3 separate regions of the Homo sapiens genome follow, and all the other regions are linked to region 1. The links are contacts of gene promoters, found by promoter capture Hi-C in blood cells and fetal thymus (Javierre and others, 2016). All regions are on one chromosome and are shown on one strand. The core of a region is centred on a gene start or on the middle of the fragment in contact, and the rest is flanking DNA. Distances in the headings are between cores, read along the strand shown. Region 1 overlaps HSF1 (heat shock transcription factor 1). Region 2 holds the start of PARP10 (poly(ADP-ribose) polymerase family member 10). Region 3 holds the start of PUF60 (poly(U) binding splicing factor 60).

Region 1 (3,456 bases), core at 948-3,447:
AAAAAACTGGGATGATGGTGAACCCAGTTCTGAGGCTTCACTTTCTGCTTTTGTTTGGTTCTCCATGCTGTCAAATTCTCTGAAGAGGCTGTTGCCCTCCTGAGTCAGCTGCAGCCCAGCAAGGCCCTAGAAGAGCCTCTGCTGGTGGACAGAGGAGCTGCTGCATGCAGACGAGGAAGCTGGGCTGAGGGCCGGCACCAGGGCACGGGGCAGGGAGGCTGCGGGTCCCGGGTCTCATGGGTCTCAGTTCTATGGAGGTGCCTGTCAGTCCAGGTATTCAGTCCCCCAACCCCGTCTTTGGGTCTCAGTGGTACTGGATCCAGGTGTACCTTTGGGAGAAGCTGTTGAGAAGCTGGCTGAGGGAGGACCACCCACGTGCACGCCCATGCTCTTATGTGGATCCCCGGGATCATAACCTTGTGGCTGACACATTTCCTCTCCAAGGCTGTGCTGTCCTCCACGACTTGCTGGGTCCCCTCAAGGCCCTTGCCTGTGTGGGTGGGGTGCTCATGGGAATGAGGGTCTTGGGAGGGGGGGGTGGGAAATCAAACAACACAGGGATGGGGTAGCTGCCACAGTCCCCACCAATGGGGTCTCCTGGGCAGTGACCCGGCATTCTGCCTCCAGTGGCTGCAGTGGGAGTCCTGATCTCAGGCCAGGGAGGGGACGTGCAATGGTGGTCCAGACCTGGTCCCATTCCTGGCCAGGCTCAGTAAAGTTACTGGCCAGTTTCTGGGCCTCGGTCTCCCCCAGGTTATTCAGCCTTGAGAGTTAGTCACCATGCCTGTGATTCTGCCTCATCTTCTTGTGTCAAATAGGGAGGGTTTTTCTTGGCAGAATGGTGGTAAGACTCTGAGCCAGAAGGAGACTCTCCCAGAGAAGGCAGCAGAGAGCAAGAGCACCAGGGCCTTCTCAAGGCCTCCGAGAGCCAGCTGGGCCTGGGCAGTAGATTTGTGGGAGGGTGCCCTGTTGGGACTCTGCTGACAGGGAGTCCTCAGGGCTTGTGTGAGTGCTCTCAAAGTCACAGGATGGGATGATCACCTCCTTTCTCCAGGCCAGGCAGCCAGCGCCGGAAAGCTCTGCAGCCCCCTGCGCGGCCTGGAGAAGGGCTTCCTTCCAGTTTTAAGTCAGTGTTTCTGTCTCATTGCCATGCTCGCCCCCAGTGCTACGTCCTGCACCAACCATTGCCACTTCATACTGACCAGGTGGAACCAAACACTCACATTCCAGTTGGCTCCCCATCCCTCCCCAGGGAGAACAGATCCACAGGTGGTGCACCTGTGAGTGGAGTGGAGGCTGGCCACGGGCCTCATCACACCTGCCTTCCTTGCTCAAAAGCCCTGCCCAGAACATGCCTCGGTCCCAAAAAAGGGTACACTGGGCCCTAACCCACATGCCTCATAATCTTTAAGCAGAAACAGCAAGCAGATTACGGGACAGGACAGATCACGCTAGTAGGATTAAGCTTAGAATATCCCAGATAATCGCGGATGCCCCTCCCCCAATGGGGGAGTTATTCCCCTTAACTTCTGAGGATTAAGGGGAATAAGAAAAAGAAGAAGGGCTGGGTGCAGTGGCTCACACCAGTAATCCCAGCACTTTGGGAGGCCAAGGCGGGTGGATAACTTGAGGTCAGGAGTTCCAGACCAGCCTGTCCAATGTGGTGAAACCCCGTCTCTACTAAAAATACAACAATCAGCCGGGTGTGGCAGCACGCACCTGTAGTCCTGGCTACTCGGGAGGCTGAGGCAGAATTGCTTGAACCCGGGAGGTGGAGGTCGCAGTGAGCCGAGATCGCACCACTGCACTCCAACCTGGGTGACAGAGCAAGACTCGGTCTAAAAAAAAAAAAAAGAAAAAAGAAAAAGACGGATAAAAGAAGACAGAAACATGGGAGTATTTCCTTTGCACAAGAATCCAAGGTCTAGAATGAAGAGATGGTGAAATGAAGCCAGCCTCCAGGAAGGTGCACTGTGCCTTAATGGGACCTGGGGATGGGAAGGCCAACACAGAGGTGTCAGCGGGACAAACACAAAGTGTTTCTAACAAGAGCAAAGATTTCCAGTCTTCTCTTTATTTCCAAACACTCTGTAGGTAAAGCAGAGCCTCAGTAAACCCAAGAAGCAGAAAACCTGGCCTCCTGCCTGGGGCAGCTTCAGTTTAGACTTTTCTTCATTCCTAACAGCATAAAGAGGCTGTGCAAATGGGAGGCACTCAGCAGAGCCTGAAGAACTCTGGGGTCTTAGCTCCTGGGAGGCCACACATGCTTGGTGGCACCCTGCCGGTCACGGTGCCTCCAAAAGCTCCCAATGATCAGTGGCCTTTCTTTTTTTTCTTTTTTTTCTTAGACAGGGTCTCACTCTTTGCCAGGCTGCAGTGGCGGGATCTTGGTTCAGTGCAACCTCTGCCTCCCAGGTCCAGGGAGTCCTCCTATCTCAGCCTCCCAAGTAGCTAAGACCACAGGCAAGCACCACCACGCCCGGCAAATTTTTTGTATTTTTAGTAGAGCTGGGGTTTTGCCATATTGTCCGGGCTGGTCTCGAACTCCTGGCCTCAAGTGATCCACCCGCCTCCGCCTCCCAAAGTGCTGGGATTACAAGCAAGAGTCACCCCACTCGGCCAGTGTGGCCCTTCTTCAGGTCATCACTTGCCAGCCGCAGGCGGTGGCTCTGCCCCTCACCGGACACGACGTCACAGCCGGGATGTGAACAGCAGATTCTGATCTCCAACTCCAGACAATCACTGATTTACTTCTGCAAACCGGAGCTGTCCGGTCTTGCAGGGTCGGACCATGTAAACAAGCCTGCTGCCAGGCAACTGAAGACAGAAACACGAATAAAGATGCCCCATAAGGAATGAAAAACAAAACTCCTCTTGGGAAACCCAGATTTGGGATTCGGAAACGGGCTTGAGATCAACCTGAAGCTTCATGACGTCTTACTGTTTCCACTGCCTTTCCTGTTCCACTACAGCAACGCCCTCCACTTCACGTGCCAAGTCCTGACTTTCTCCTAATAGTTGCCGACCCAGCACCCCGTAGGCTGTCCCCTGGGGACGCCGATGTCCTCTGGGGCATAGCGTCCGCTGGCGAAGCCGGGTGCTTGCCCTAAGCGCGGACACTTCCGCAACCGCCCAACAGTTAGCAGAAGCCCAATACAAGAGACGCCCCATTCTCCCCATCCCAGGGAAACTTCGCTGGGGCAGGGGTTGAACCGAGTGTGGGTCTCGTAGCCGCTTTCCCAACTTAAGGCTCTGGGTCTGAGCAGGCTCGGGACCCGCCGCCCTTCTCTGGCGGGGGCAGGGCAGGCTCACCGCGCGTAAGCTGAAGTGCGGCAGGGCCCCTCCCCGCAGCCCTCCCGCGCCGTCCGCCGCGGCCCTGCTCCCTCCCGGTCCCCACGGGCCCCGCGCCCGCGCGCTGCCCTCACCGGGCTCCAGCAGATGAGCGCGTCGGTGTCC
Region 2 (3,646 bases), core at 1,056-3,555, 310 kb after region 1:
TGGGCGCGGTGGCTTACGCCTGTAATCCCAGCACTTTGGGAGGCCGAGGCGGGTGGATCACAAGGTCAGGAGATGGAGACCATCCTGGCTAACACGGTGAAACCCCGTCTCTACTAAAAATACAAAAAAAAATTAGCTGGGCGTGGTGGTGTGCACCTGTAATCCCAGCTATTGGGGGGGCTGAGGCAGGAGAATGGCTTGAACCTGGGAGGCAGAGGTTACAGTGAGCTGAGATCGTGCCACCGCACTCCAGCCTGCGTAACAGAGTGTGACTCTGTCTCAAAAAATAAATAAATAAGTAAATAAAAATAAAATAGCTGGGTATGGTGGCTGGCACCAGTAATCCCAGCACTTTGGGAGGCTGAGGCAGGTGGATCATCTGAGGTCAGGAGTTTGAGACCAGTCTGCCCAATAGGGTGAAACCCTGTCTCTGCTAAAAATACAAAAATTAGCTGGGCATGGTGGTGCGTGCCTGTAATCCCAGCTACTTGGGAGGCTTAGGCAGGAGAATCCCTTGAACCCAGTGGGTGGACGTTGCAGTGAGCCGAGATCACGGCACTTCACTCCAGCCTGGGTGAAAGGGCGAAACTCCGTCTCAGAAAAAAAAAAAAAAAAGGCAGAGTAAGGGAGATCATGCCAGAGGGGTGGCCATGGGGGTTTGTGGGGAAGGTAGGGCCAAGCAGAGGGAAGGGCCAGTCCCAGGCTACTGAGGCAGGAGTGGCCTGTAGCTCTGCAGGAAGAGCTGAGAGCCTGGAGCCCTCTGAGCATCAGGGTGTGCAGGGGGCATGGGGCCAGAGAAGGGACTGAGGTCTGGTCAGGTGCAGCTGGGCAGGGGGCAGGTCCTCAAAAGGACTTTGGGTTTTTGTTTTTTTTTTAGACAGAGTCTCACTCTATCACCTTGGTTGGAGTGCAGTGGCACGATCTCAGCTCACTGCAACCTCCACCTCCCAGGTTCAAGCTATTCTCCTGACTCAGCCTCCTGAGTAGCTGAGATTATAGGCACCTGCCACCATGCCCGGCTAATTTTTATATTTTTAGTAGAGACAGGGTTTTACCATGTTGGCCAGGCTGATCTCAAACTCCTGACCTCGTGATCCACCTGCCTCAGTCTCCCAAAGTGCTGGGATTACAGGCATGAGCCACTGCGCCCGGCCCCCAGGACTTTGGTTTCTACTGTTGCTGATGCTGGGAGCTGTAGCAGCTGCTGGTGTCATTTTACAAGGCTCACCCTGACACCTCTGTTGAGGACCCACCATGGGAGTGGCAGACAGAGACTAGTTAAGAGGTTAGCCTAGCTACCTAGCGAGAGATGCTGGAGGCTGGGACCAGGGTCGGGGCAGCAGAGGTGTGGCATGTGCAGGGCTAGGAGTGCAGGCTGGCCAGGGTCCTCAGCTCCCTGGAGGGAGGAACAGCAGGGGTGGGGCTGGGTTTTGGTGGGCTGAGGGGTGAGTGGGAAGTAGGAGATGGAGAGTGGTAGTGGCCACAGCTCTTTGAAAGGCTGGAAGCAAACGGAGCTTGGGTGATGTGGGAGATCTGTGGCGAGTGGGAGTGTGGACTCTGAAGGCACCGCCCAGGTTTGAGGCCTGGTGCTGCTATGGGCCTGTCTGCACCTCCGTTTCCCTTTCTGTGGTGAGGATTAGCGGCAGCAAGGAATGCAGTGGAGCCATTACCTTGTCACCTTCTGAGGTTACTTGTGACGATGCCAATGATGGTGTGAGATGGGGAGGTGCAGGCAGGACAGAAAGCTGCAGGAATGGGCAGGCAAGACCTGAGGCGGGAGGAAGGCTGTGCTGCAATGCACATTCTTGGAGACCAAGGGTGGGGAACCGCCCATGCTCAGCACCTGGCAGGTGTGAGGGACCAGGAGCAGGGTTGAGAAGGTTGCTGGGGGCGTTGAAGGCCAGCCTTGGCCGGGGGCGGGCCTGGAGACCCAGCACTTTGTGTGCAGAGGGTGTCATGGACACAGAGGCTTGGAGATCCTGAGTGAGGGGCAGTGACTCAGGCCCCTTGGTGGGTTTAGTGGGGCGGGTGATTGGCCATTTTCAGGCCATGGAGGCCAGGGGAGTGGAGGGCCACCAGGGGACACTCCTGTCTACCCTGCCAACCAGGGGCTGGAGTGGGCCAGGTAGGGCCGGTGGGCTGGGCTGGGTTGGCTGGAGGGTCCTGAGGGGTCCAGCCTGGCCAATACCTCCTGGTCAGCTGGGGGTTGAGGCTGCAGCAGGAGAGGAAGCATCTGAGCCCCAGTACCCAGGCCTCAGCGCCCAGGGCCCAGCTGCTCCCTCCCTCCTTCCGTCTTTCAGTTTCACTTTTGTTTTCCTGCTCCCAGCAGGGTTAGGCTTGCTGAGGGGCAGGCACAGGAGTCCTGGCTGAGCTCATGGCCTGAGGCTGCCTAGCGGCCACGGGGAATGTAAGTGCTGTATGTGGGGCCACCCATAATGGGGGAGCATTGAGGACACACCTTGGAGGGGCCTGGGGAGGGGCAGGAGGGGTGGAATGGGCTGTTTCCCTACCCACCTGATGCCCCGTCCCAGGGTTGCAATGGCGGAGGCAGAGGCAGGGGTGGCAGTGGAGGTCCGTGGACTGCCCCCTGCCGTGCCCGACGAGCTGCTCACTCTCTACTTTGAAAACCGCCGACGCTCTGGAGGGGGACCTGTGTTGAGCTGGCAGAGACTGGGCTGTGGGGGCGTCCTCACCTTCAGAGAGCCTGCAGGTGAGAGGGCTGGCTGAAGGGACAGCCTGGGTGCCCTGATATTCTAATGCCTGACATCCTGCCCCGCCCCTGCCCACAGACGCCGAGAGGGTCTTGGCCCAGGCAGATCACGAACTACATGGTGCCCAGCTGAGCCTGCGGCCAGCTCCACCACGAGCCCCTGCACGCCTGCTGCTCCAAGGACTGCCCCCTGGCACCACGCCCCAGCGCTTGGAGCAGCATGTCCAGGCCTTGCTGCGGGCCTCGGGGCTCCCAGTACAGCCTTGCTGTGCCTTGGCCAGCCCCCGGCCAGACCGGGCTCTGGTCCAGTTGCCCAAGCCCCTTTCTGAGGCAGGTGAGAGGCAGGGTTGGGGTTGAGGTGCTGGCTAGGGGGGATTCCCTGAGCTGACCTGCACATACCCCACAGATGTCCGTGTCCTGGAGGAGCAGGCCCAGAATCTGGGCCTGGAGGGGACCTTGGTGTCCCTGGCCCGGGTTCCCCAGGCCCGAGCGGTGCGTGTGGTGGGGGATGGTGCCTCTGTGGACCTGCTGTTGCTGGAGTTGTACCTGGAGAATGAGCGCCGCAGTGGTGGGGGGCCCCTGGAGGACCTGCAACGCCTACCCGGGCCCCTGGGCACTGTTGCCTCCTTCCAGCAGTGGCAAGGTGAGTGGGGCTGGGCAGACCCAGCCGACCGTCCCTCTCCTGCAGAAATCTGACAGGCTTTCTGTCCTTTCCCTTCCTCCAAGTGGCAGAACGAGTGTTGCAGCAGGAGCACCGGTTGCAGGGCTCAGAGCTGAGCCTTGTCCCCCACTACGACATCCTGGAGCCCGAGGAGCTGGCTGAGAACACCAGTGGAGGGGACCACCCGTCCACCCAGGGGCCTAGGGCTACCAAGCATGCTCTCCTGAGGACCGGAGGGTTGGTGACGGCTCTGCAGGGTGCAGGGACTGTGACAA
Region 3 (3,287 bases), core at 555-3,054, 460 kb after region 1:
GGAAGCTGTCCCCAGAGGGTGGTGCCTGTGGCTTCCCCTGGTGGTGGTGGCAGACCAGCCCCCCACCTCCCATCCACCCCCTCCATTGTGGAGGCCTTGTGTGCCAGGCTAGCCCTAAGAGCACCCACCTGTGTTACTGCTATTCTGTTTTCCAGCTATCTGGTTCTGTCATTATACATTCTGGAAGACTTCATCTTAAAAGCCTATTGAATTGCTCACTTTCCCCTCATGTTTTATTTCTAAGAGCTCTTTCTCATCCCGAGGTTTCTTTCTCTATAGCCCCCAGTTCCTTTTTATTGACTGAGAATGGCATTTTAGTTTTCATTTTTCTTCGGCTTCCTTTATCGTCTCTGTTTCTTCTGAGTCCCTTTTCTTCTTTCTCAGGTGTCTGGTGATCCTGGGCTGTCCAGCTGCATTGAAGAGTGAGATGCTTTTAGTGGCTGGGGCTTATGACCTGGTGAGCTTCGAGGCCAGGGATCTGGCTGGGCCATTCTACTGGGCAACACTCTACCCCTAGGTGCCCTGCCAGTCTTTTCTTTTGAGCTAGGAGCTGCTGCAGAGAGGAGCCCTCTTCTCTGAGAAGCCTGATGGCATGCGGGTGGTCAGACCCAGCCCAGGGGTGGAGGCAGGGGTAGGACCCAGAGTCTCACTTACTCCCAGGCTTTCAGACAGGGCCTTGCTTGAGCAGGGCCTCAGAGCTCCTCTCCTGGAGCTCACGTCTCAGACACTGCAGTGCCTGCCAGCCCCGGTGGGTAGGGACAGAGGTCTGGGGTTTCCTTTCTGTAGCTGTGCTTTCACCCACGACCCTCAGACACTGGCCTCCATAGCCAAGTGGGCTGGAGTAGCTCTCGCTGTCCACCTTTCTTAAGCTCTGCAATATCCCAGCTCTTTGCCCTTGCAGGGTTTGTCTTTATAAAACCCCTTTCCTATAATTTTGGAAGGTTTCAGGAGGGAGGCGGGGAATATTCTGCCCTATTTAAGTAGAAGTGTCTGTATTAAATTCTAAATGTTCCCAGGGTTGAAAGGAGGCCTGCCCGGGATGCCTTGTGGCCTTAGGCAGCTGAAGGTGCCTGAGCTTACAGATGTGGCTTCTTCGGATGACCGAGTTGGGGTCTCGGGACTGGGTGCAGCAGATGGCAAATGTCCAGGACAGGCAGCTTTCCCAGCAGTACTGACAGACACCTTGGGCCATGAAAGCCAGTTCAGGGACTAACGGGGCCTGCGGGCTGCGGGTCTAGCGACTGATGTCAGCCAACCTAGGGTCATCGGTTCCCTGGAAGGAGAAAAAGCTGCCAATTGAACGGGGCCTCCCGGTCCCAGGGATGTCGCGACGCGGGGACGACGCATCTCACGACGTCAGCCTGAAACACGCGGGCCTTTCATCACCCGAGACTCCTCCAGCCCAGGAGGGCCCCGCTCTTTCGCCTGCCTCCTGGGGGAGAGCCTCTGGACGACGCACGCGACAGCGTTTTCTCCAAAAAAGGCAGAGAAGAGAAGCGTAGCAGTGGCCGCAAGGGCGACGGGCGGCGAAGGGTACTACGCACGCCCGCGTCGGCCACGCGGAGAGATACGCCCGACTCGAGTCCCGCGGCGCACGCCCCTAGACGCCCGAGGTGCGCGGGCCACGCCCCTCGCCCGGCCAAGAGCACGCCCCTTCCGTCGCCCCTCCCGGGGGCGTTTACCGTTCCTCCCCGCCCCGGAAGCGCGTTCTTACCTCCTTCCTCGCGAGAGTTCCGTGCACCGGCACCCAGATCGCGCGAGACAGCGGAAGGAGCAAGAGTGGGAGGCGCGCGCGGAGGCCGCGACGGACGCAAGATGGCGACGGCGACCATAGCTCTCGTAAGTGAGCCCCCCCATGAGCGCGGGCGGCCCTCGGCTTGCGGGGCCGGGTCGTCGACCCAGCCTGGGCGCGGAGGGCCTCCCAAGAACGCGGCGGTCTTCCCAGGTCCCGCGCGGACTCCCTCGTGTCCCCGGGTCGCGTGAGGCGGGGGCGGGGCGGGCGCGCGCCGGCGGCCGGCTCGCGGCCTCAGCTTCCGGCCTGCGGACCCCAGCTTCCGGCGGGGCGGGGCGGGGGCCTGGGCGCGGCGTGTGGCCCTTGCGGGCGAGCCTGGCGGGGTTGCGTTCCTGTCCGCTAGGTCCGGCAAGCGGGGGTCGTCGTCCTCCCTTTGCCGACGGGGGTGTGCGCCGTGGTCACGACGGAAGCGGGGTTCTGGGGGTGACGCGTGGGCCTTCGGGTTGATGGGATCAGAAGGGGACGGGACCTGTAGAAAGGGGCCTGCAGCTCAGAGCATGGGGCGGCCTTGGCTCACTACGCCTGCAGCTGTGAATTCGTTCTCCGGTGCTGGAGAGGGATCTGGTTATCTCCATTCTCTTGTCTCCACGTGGAAAGGAAGGACGTGCGCTCTCATCCTACGTGTTTTGAGAAATCGCATTGTCCCCAGCTCTGCGGGAGGATCTGGGGACGCAGTGGGGAACCAGACAGGCAGTTGGAGGTCTAGTGCGCACCAGAAGCCAGTTCCCACCCAGGGTGCCATTTGCTGGGCGCCCTAGGGAGCTGCGTGGGCATCCAGAGGAGTGAGTCGCCCCCTGCTCTGCTCAGTGCCCACTTCCCCGGGCAGGGCAGGCGTTATTAACGTAGAGGGAGAACACCCATGCACACAACACATGCACGATGAAGTCTGGTCTTTCCTTCTCACCACTTAGCTTATAGGACCTAATCCCCTTTTGGACCTTTCTCAGCCGCAGTTTACCCCTGTATTACTTGTCACCCTTCCCCCAGCCCACACCCAGCGGGATGGGATAAGGTCTGTTTGAGAAGACAGCTTGGGCAAATGGCTGAAGGCTGGACTGGCAGGACCAGGGAGTGTCCTTAGACTGCCATTGCCAGGCCCCCAGCGGGCGGGCTGGTCCCATGTCCCACTGAGGCAGAAACCAGTTACTAGGGGGAGAGAGGCATTTACACAAGATACCCAGCTTGCGAGGGCAGCCCAGTGTGTGATTCACAGGACTGGCTAACTCCACTCTTTCTACTATGTCCTTTCTCTTGAAGCCACAGGAGTAAGTGACCTTTGAGGGGCACTCCAGAGAGAAAGGATGTAAGGGTTGAGGACCTGGTGACTGTCTTCAGGCAGCAGTCAGAGAGTTGATGGTGAAGGAGGAGGAGGCTCAGAGACAAGGACTGGACATGGGAAGGTGGAGGAGGAGAGTGGATGCCTGACTCCCCTAGCACCCGCAGAACAGCGCCCTGTGCTCATGAGGGTTAAATGGGGGCTCAGGTCTGCTGTGGC

The links. The method cuts DNA at HindIII sites, captures the fragments that hold promoters and counts their contacts. A CHiCAGO score of 5 or more calls a contact.
Region 2: the fragment with the promoter of PARP10 here is called in contact with a fragment that was not itself captured in region 1 in 1 of 17 cell types (monocytes); the score reaches 8.6 in monocytes.
Region 3: a contact is called between the fragment with the promoter of PUF60 here and a fragment that was not itself captured in region 1, in 5 of 17 cell types (monocytes, M0 macrophages, non-activated CD4 T cells and 2 more). The highest score is 11.6, in monocytes.

The regions. Positions count from the first base shown.
Region 1 is chr8:144,291,844-144,295,299 of GRCh38, reverse strand. It overlaps HSF1 (heat shock transcription factor 1), which reads right to left. Exons shown (of 13, transcript NM_005526.4): 1 at 3,426-3,456. Among named protein-coding and RNA genes, the nearest start is that of HSF1, 2.0 kb to the right of the region's middle. RefSeq lists enhancers at 2,899-2,958, 2,561-3,217 and a silencer at 3,349-3,456. The HindIII fragment of the contact is 1,460 bases long and covers 1,468-2,927 here.
Region 2 is chr8:143,985,119-143,988,764 of GRCh38, reverse strand. PARP10 (poly(ADP-ribose) polymerase family member 10) reads left to right here and starts at 2,305. Exons shown (of 11, transcript NM_032789.5): 1 at 2,305-2,407; 2 at 2,532-2,710; 3 at 2,790-3,044; 4 at 3,117-3,353; 5 at 3,437-3,646. The coding sequence starts at 2,406. RefSeq lists enhancers at 1,629-2,532, 2,203-2,642. The HindIII fragment of the contact is 24,851 bases long and covers 1-3,646 here.
Region 3 is chr8:143,827,832-143,831,118 of GRCh38, reverse strand. It overlaps PUF60 (poly(U) binding splicing factor 60), which reads left to right and starts at 1,804. Exons shown (of 12, transcript NM_078480.3): 1 at 1,804-1,839. The coding sequence starts at 1,816. It overlaps LOC107986985 (a long non-coding RNA gene), which reads right to left and starts at 1,839. Exons shown (of 3, transcript XR_001746138.2): 1 at 1,715-1,839; 2 at 1,081-1,273; 3 at 1-410. It also overlaps a transcript of NRBP2 not described here. RefSeq lists enhancers at 513-1,712, 1,033-1,732 and a silencer at 1,517-2,086. The HindIII fragment of the contact is 7,973 bases long and covers 1-3,287 here.